Linked DNA regions of Homo sapiens: region 2 is linked to region 1. The links are contacts of gene promoters, found by promoter capture Hi-C in blood cells and fetal thymus (Javierre and others, 2016). All regions are on one chromosome and are shown on one strand. Each heading gives the region's core, a stretch centred on a gene start or on the middle of the fragment in contact. The rest is flanking DNA. Distances are from core to core; before and after follow the strand shown. Region 1 holds the start of BACH1-IT2 (BACH1 intronic transcript 2). Region 2 overlaps USP16 (ubiquitin specific peptidase 16).

Region 1 (4,124 bases), core at 496-2,995:
TGATATGGTTTGGCTGTGTCCCCACCCAAATCTCATCTTGAATTGTAGCTCCCATAATTCCCATGTGTTGTGGGAGGGACCCGGTGAAAGAAAATTGAATCGGTTTCCCCCATACTGTTCTCAAGGTAGTGAATAAGTCTCACAAGATCTGACAGTTTCGTAAGGGGTTTCCCCCTTTCCTTGGCTCTCATTCTCTCTTGCCTGCTGCCATGTAAGATGTGCCTTTCACCTTCTGCCATGATTGTGAAGCCTCCCCAGCCTCATGGAACTGTGAGTCCATTAAACCTCTTCTTTCTTTATAAATTACCCACTCTCAGGTATGTTTTTATCAGCAGTTTGAAAACAGACTAATACACTATCCTCAATGCCTTTCTAATTCTACCCATTGTACATGGATTGGACTCCTCAATGCCAACTCCATTCATGAAATACTTTCCAAGCCCTTTCATACCCAGCATGTACAAATTGTCCCCAGCACCTTCTTAACAAGTATGTCTGAATAACAGAAAACTACAATAATAATGCATGTCAGAATTATATGATGTAAAGATGTGTCTGTCACTGCTACCAGCTCTATCTATACCTCTTTCTCTGTAATCCTTATAACCATCTGACACATTAGGTCACATAGCTATTTAGCGGTGGACTTGAGCTTCGAATCCAGGTGTTCTTGGGAAACTTGCAGATCATAGAGAAGCATGAACACAAAGAATAAGTGTGGCCTTCCAGTGGTGGGGGCAGGGTGTCATGAGACACAGAGCAGTGGTAGGTCTTATGCAGAGCCTCTTTAGGGTTTTACACCACTGGTAGAAGAATCTGTCTCTAGACCGAAGAGTTCAAACCGAGAGACTTCTTGCTTTCTCACAAAGACAGGCTTCTGGCCATTTAGCTGCTGGGCTTTTCATCAGCCTTGAGGAATGAGAGACCTTTGTGGAGCTCTTGTTTCTAGGCGTGAGAGCAGGGGAGAGGCTGAAAAGCATCTGACATTCCTGGCGTCCCATTCTCTAGACAAGAGGGGACACTCATAAGGGCCTAAATACCTGTCCAAAGGCTTCAGTCACAATCCCTACTCTGTAAGGAAAATCTTGGCATCATTTCATCCCATACAACTAAGAAGAAAGATATATATCATGATAGCATATGGATGTGTTAACCATCTTCCCCCATTTTCACGTTTTAAGAATTTTAGGGCCGTGCATGGTGGCTCACGCCTGTAATCCCAGCACTTTGGGAGGCTAAGGCTGGCAGATCACAAGGTCAGGAGATCGAAACCATCCTGGCCAACATGGTGAAACCCCCGTCTCTACTAAAATACAAAAAATGAGCCAGGCGAGGTGGTGTGCGCTTGTAGTCCCAGCTACTCGGGAGGCTGAGACAAGGGAATTGCTTGAACCCAGGAGGCAAAGGTTGCAGTGAGCCAAGATCATGCCACTGCACTCCAGCCTGGCGACAGAGCAAGACTCTGTCTCCAAAAAAAAAAAAAAAAATTTTAGGTCTGGGGTGAGTTGGAGTATTGCTGAGGAGAACCTTTCTCAAGGGCAGGGCTCTCGGAGATCATGTTCTCATGGGTCCCCGGGACCGGTCCTCAGGCTCGCTAGTTTAAGGTGAGTGGAGTGGTCTCTAGGAGCAGAGCATGATAACAACGCTAGGTCACTCATTTACAACGGACTGTAATAAACTACCTTTTTCCTTCCACCAGGGGGCACCATTCACATAGACTTCAACAGCAGTGGCATCAACAGGCCTACAAAGTGGTGGTGGTAAAAAACACACTTGAGACCATCATATGTATCTGAAATCAGATACGATACCTGAAAAACATAAATCAAATTAATGCTCATATGGTTGCTTGCTGTCCAAGGAATTCAAAGCAAAGGTGGAAACTGACCCTTACATCACTTCTTCCTTCTAGATGAATAGCATCAGCTACATTTTCTTTCCCATTATGTAATGTTTCTATTCTGACCACCCACCTGTGATGGACATAGTCTTTTTAGATGTGTTAGTTTTAATATTAGTCAAGACTTAGTCTCAACCGTTCTCTATTAAGTGACTTTGCAGATATCTGATGTCATCTCCATTAATGCAGATTTTCATGTCAGATTCAGCTCTGAGTTCACCTTAATGCGGTGGTGGTTCCCATAGTGTAGTGCCCAGGCCCCCGCATCAACATCACTTGGGAACTTGTTAGAAAGGCAAGTTCCTGGTTCCCAACTCAGACCTACCTACCAAGTCAGAAATCTAAGTGTGGGGCCTGCAATCTGTGTTTTTACAAGCCTAACAGGGGATACTAATGCATGCTAAAGTTTGAGAACCACTGACTTAATATACAGTTTCCAACCCGGATGACACTAGAAACAACTACGGGACTTTACAAAAATATGGGTGTCCTGGCTTCCCCCAGAGCCACTAGGGTAGTGGAAACAAATGTCACTATCAAATGGATCTGGGTTTGAATTCTGGTTTTGTCACTCACCAGCTATGTGCCTTGTGGAGGCTCCATCTTCTCATCTGTAAAGTAAAAGTCATCGGACCTGCCTTGTAGGAAGGTGTAGGAGGGGAAGGTTCAGCAAATGCCTCATAGAGAGATTGACTCATAGTACATCTTCTTCCTTGGCCTCCACCGCAACTAGAATCTTATTCACCCGGCCTGTGAGGGTACAGTTCTCACCTTGCCCCAGAATCACCAGGTGAGAATGATTTGCTAGACCCGCTTTCTGAAGTTTCACAAATGGACAAACATTTTCACAGCTGTTACTGGGATTTTGCCATAAATCAGCAGGAACACACCCGAGATCTGACAAAGCTATTTCAAACTCTAGATCAATGAGGAGGGAAGTTGCTATGAAGCCGGGTTTGCCAACTGAGAGCATTGTAATTGTTCGAGTTGCTCTTGGGATCTAGCTCAGATTCCTGCTGACACCAGAGAAGTGAAGAATGAAAATAGTTGCCTAGAAAATCAGAAGCAGCTCCCCAAGTTACCTGCCACATACAGGTTTGTTTTTCCTTAATTATCTAGGTAATTGCTTTGCTTCCTCTACCTGCCTTTACCAAGAGATGCCTGGCCAGAAGAGCGAGGAATTAAAGTACCTGTGGAGGCTGCCCACCGAGTGAAGCTGCAGGCTGCCCATCCCATCGCAGTAGCTCCTTAGTTGTCAGTAGGTTGTTTCTATGAATGCCCCCTCCATCAGAAACCAATGAGGTTTTTCCAATTAATCTAAATCCCTGCTCTTGTGGAACTGGTGCGGAGACAGTGGTTAAATGCTAAATTGTCAGCCCAAAGTCAAATCCTTTTATTTAAAAACATAATATGCAGAATGGCTTCCTAAAACAAAAATTGGGAAAATTGTTAACATAGAGACTTCCAGGTTTTGCCAAGGGTACAACTGTTTTCTTAAACACAGTTTTTAACAATTACGTACAAATCAAACCAAAGTTCATCCAACCCACTCTCTGAATTAGTCTCAGTACAATGCGCATAGACAGCTATCACTAGAGTTAGTGAATATTATGGGAAAAATTAGAGGCAAAAGTTGAGACTGGAGCCGGTGAGAGTTAACAAAAACACTATTTATATAGAGAAAAATACATTTTAGAGAAGTATAAACATACTGCTTGGCATCAACATAAAAGCCCAAGTGCAAGTCAAAGGTAACCCAAAAGGCTCATAGGTCCTCAGACTACAGAAACCCCCCTACTGATGGCAACAGAAGGTCTGGCCTTCCACATGCTACTTCCTTAGTGTTTGTGGGGGAAAAAAAAATCCCACTGTATAAATTAGAATAGGCCAGATCATGCTACAGTAACAAATAACCCCAAAGTCTCAGTAGCTTACAACCACAAAGGTTTACCTCTTTCCCACTGTATTCAGGGTTTTCCAGAGAAACAGAACCAATAAGGGATTTAATAGAGAGAGAGGGGATGAGGGGGAGAGATAGTGATATGGTTTGGCTCTGTGTCCCCACCCAAATCCCACCAGGAACTGTAATCCCCATAATCCCCATGTGTCAAGGTCAGGACCAGGTGGAGGTAATTGGATCATGGGTGCAGTTCCCCCAAGCTGTTCTTGTGATAGTGAGTTCTCACGATATCTCATGGTTTTATAAGCATCTGGCATTTCCCCA
Region 2 (4,012 bases), core at 199-2,698, 320 kb after region 1:
AAGCCCTGAACAGGAAGAGAACAGTATTTTAGGTTGTGCCAAAAATTACCCCTTACATCTTTAAATGTCCCCAAGGGAGTTGGTGAGAAGCACATTCAACCTCTCAAGTGTTCACTTTCCCCACGAGAGAGTGCACGCTGCTTATTCTTTCAGGACTCTATATGCCATAGGGCTGGCAACAGGAACAGGCATTCTCTGGGCCAGGAGCCACTTTTCAGACAACTATTTATGTTCTCATGTAAAAGTCCGTAACAGGCATCACGGCCCTTCAGTAGTACTGTCTCCTATACTCAGCTTCCCAATCTGTGCCTCCATATTCACTGAAGAACTTAGTACTTCTCCGTCCATCTATGATTCTCACAGGACTTTAAATGCCATTCCATTTTAGTCAACCACACCCAGGACTAGAGTCTGGGCTTGTCATCACTCAGAATTGTTCAACTTCATAAAATTTTTTTTGAGACAGGGTCTCACTCCGTCACCCAGGCTGGAGTGCAGTGGCATGATCTCAGCTCAATGCAACCTCTGCCTCCTGGGCTCAAGTGATCCTCCCGCCTCAGCCTCTGGAATAGCTGGGACTACAGGTGCACACCACCATGACCTGCTAAATTAATTTTTTGTAGAGATGGGGTTTCAGCATGTTGCCTGGGCTGGTCTCAAACTCCTGAGCTGAAGGGACATAAATCTTATTTTTAGTCTTAGTCCACAAGTCTTCTATTTATTCAACTCTCATCTCACCTATTCTGTACTCTTTAACCTAACAGGATCTCCAATGCTCATATTCTCCTCACCTATGAAGACTTTTGGCTTCATTCCTGATATGGTTTGGCTGTGTCCCTACCCAAATCTCATCTTGAGTTGTAGCTCCCACAATTCCCACATGTCATGGGAGGGTACCCGTTGGGACGCAACTGAATCATGGGAGCAGGTCTTTCCCATCCTTATTCTTGATAGTGAATAAGCCTCATGAGAGCTGATGGTTTCTTAAGGGGGAGTTTCCCTCCACAAGCTCTTGCTTTGCCCGCTGCCATCCATGTAAGATGTGACGTGCTCCTCCTTGCCTTCCGCCATGACTGTGAGGCCTCCCCAGCCATGTGGAACTGTAAACCTCTTTCTTTTGTAAATTGCCCAGTCTTGCCCAGTATATCTTGTCCAGTATATCTTTATCAGCAGCATGGAAACTGACATAATATAATTCCCATATGCAGTCTAGACCATTGCTATTCAAAATGTGGTCCATGAACAGCCAGCATCAGCATCACCTGAGAGTTTACATTAAACATGCAGAATTTTTGATCCCATACTAGACCTACAGAATCAAAATTTGTAGGTCTGATTCCCACATACACATTAAAGTTTGGGAACTTCAATCACATGTATCACTTACAAATAATCTCCTCCATATCCAATTCATCACAAAACCTCACCCTGAATCCTATAATGTACCTGCCATGCCCCAAACCCAGATGGCCACTACTGCCAAGAAACAAAAGTATAATAAATGATCATGTACCTTGTCATAGTCCTCAATGTGACCATAATCTTATAAATTGTCCTTAGCGGCCTCTTCCATTATGCCCATCACAGCAACTGGCCCAGACTTTTTTTTTTTTTTGAGGGAGTTTCTTGCTCTGTCACCTAGGCAGGAGTGCAGTGACGCAATCTCGGCTCACTGCAGCTCTGCCTCCCAGGTTCCAGCAATTCTCCTGCCTCAGCCTCCCGAGTAGCTGGGATTACAGGCGCACACCACCATGCCTGGCTAATTTTTGTATTTTCAGTAGAGACAGGGTTTCACCATGCTGGCCAGGCTGGTCTCGAACTCCTCACCTCAAGTGATCCACCCGCCTCGGCCTCCCAAAGTGTTGGCATTACAGGCGTAAGCCACCACGCCCAGCCCCAAATTCTTCAACATGGAGATTCTTTGAGATCCTTTGTGGTGTCCTCACTTTCTACCCCTGCCTCTTCCACTCAGATACTTAGGAGGGTCCTGTCATTGGCCATCTCCTTTTTCTCTCTTCAGACTCTATACACAAGGGATCCCATCTTCTCATAGTTTAAACTGCCACATATGTACTGATTTCTAAATCTGTGCCCTGGGCCCATCCTAACCTCTCTGCTATAGGTCTCAGATATGTATATCCAAATGTTTTCTAGACTAAGCACATTAATTTCTCAAAGGTATCTGACACTCAAATGTATCTAAAACTGAAGTCATTATCCTTTCTCTACCTGCTTTTCTCAACCTGCTTTTCTCCCTATATATCCTATCTCAATTTACAGCACTCCCATCTGTCGTGCCAGGCCTCAGGAATCATCCTCAACCCTTTCTCTGCCACCCTCAGCATCCACTTATAAAAGGCCTCTGCCTCACCTTACAGTGCCAATCAATCATTAAGTCTGGTTAATTCTACCTCCTGAAATATTCCTTCTATCTCCCCATCTCCTGCCCAACTTTAAGCCCTCATCAACTACTGGCTGAATTAATACAACAGCCTCCAAACTCACTTCCCCACCTCTAGTCTTTCCGTCCTAAAATTCAGCCTTCATACATCAACAAGTAACCTACGTCATATGAAGATCTGACCATGCCACCCCAGTGCTTTAAACTCCTCAGGGCTCCCCACTGTATACCTAATGAAGTCCAAGTTCCTCACCATGAGAACCCTCCAAAACTTCATTCCTATCTCACTTCTCTGGCTTCATTTCTCAACTCTCCCTATAACCTTGTACTATAAACTCTAGAACTACATACGTTACCAGTCTCTGGCAATCACCATCCTATTTTACACTGCTGTTTTTACTCCTGCTGTTCCTTCTGCCTGCAAAACTCATTTCATCTTGATTCATCATACTTTTACTCCTTCTTTAAATATAGTTGAGGCATGGTTTACTTTACAAAGCCATTCCTGAACCACCAACATGCTGGGTTAAGTGTATACCACTCCTGACCTATGTTCACCAGCCTTAACATTCAACCACATTAAACAGATTATTCATTAATAGATCTGCTCACCTTTAGTTTTATGCCCTCCGCTCACAAGACAATGTATGCCATAATAAAGGGGATTCCAAACGTTGAACTGAAATAACCCATTCTTCAAAATGATTCATCACTAATCTTCAAATTATAAAGGTACAATGATCAAAGACCCACTCTACTCAATAAGTGTTATCAACTTCATACTTAAGTGAGTTGCTACTGGAGCATTAGGTAAGCCACAATTTGACTTTAAAGGACTTTCCTGAAAAAGACCACTTTGACTTACCTTACATTTAAGGGTGCAAAAAGGAGCCAAATCTAAGATTTCCGGAAACTTTATGTGTTTGTTAACTTTGCGTAGGTTAAAACCAGCCTAAAAGAGAAGCATAACAGATTGACTTCTTTTCTTGGAAAAGCAATACAGGTTAAGTAAACCGAAGTCCCCTCCGACGTCCAAAAGAATATCAACATTAAGTCCTAGTTCAATTTTCTTTGGAGACTCAATTCTTCCTGAACACTAACTGATTCCAAGTTGGTTTGCTTTTGCTAAGTACACATGTATCACACAAAAAACACACACCAACACATTAAGAAAGCTATTCCCAGCTGGACACGATGGCACATGCCTGTAATCTCAGCACTTTGGGAAGCTGAGGCAGGAGGATCACTTGAGCCCAGGAGTTCGAGATCAGCCTGGGCAACACTGTGAGACTCTGTCTCTACAAAAAAATTAAAAAATTAGCTGGACATGGTGGTAGCCACCTATAGTCCCAGCTACTATAGAGGCTAAGGTGGGAGGATCGCTTGAGACTGGGAGGTCAAACCTTCAGTGAGCCATGATCGTGTCATTGCACACCAGCCTGGGTGACAGAACAAGACTGTTTCAAAAAGAAGAAAAACAACTTTTCTCGTGAGAAAATTCTCAATGTTTCTGCTTCAGCCATCCAGAAATGCCAGATTAGACCACAGGTTCTGAGTGCTTAAAACTCAGCGATAGCATAATACTTTTCTGTGAAACACACGCTCTCAGCC

What was found. The method cuts DNA at HindIII sites, captures the fragments that hold promoters and counts their contacts. A CHiCAGO score of 5 or more calls a contact.
Region 2: a fragment that was not itself captured here is called in contact with the fragment with the promoter of BACH1-IT2 in region 1 in 4 of 17 cell types (neutrophils, total B cells, monocytes and 1 more); the score reaches 21.9 in neutrophils.

Annotation. Positions count from the first base shown.
Region 1 is chr21:29,370,122-29,374,245 of GRCh38, reverse strand. BACH1-IT2 (BACH1 intronic transcript 2) reads right to left here and starts at 1,745. Exons shown (of 2, transcript NR_046564.2): 1 at 1,683-1,745; 2 at 266-1,004. The HindIII fragment of the contact is 7,280 bases long and covers 1-4,124 here.
Region 2 is chr21:29,049,433-29,053,444 of GRCh38, reverse strand. It overlaps USP16 (ubiquitin specific peptidase 16), which reads right to left. Exons shown (of 18, transcript NM_006447.3): 16 at 3,267-3,353. Among named protein-coding and RNA genes, the nearest start is that of CCT8, 22 kb to the left of the region's middle. The HindIII fragment of the contact is 5,164 bases long and covers 1-4,012 here.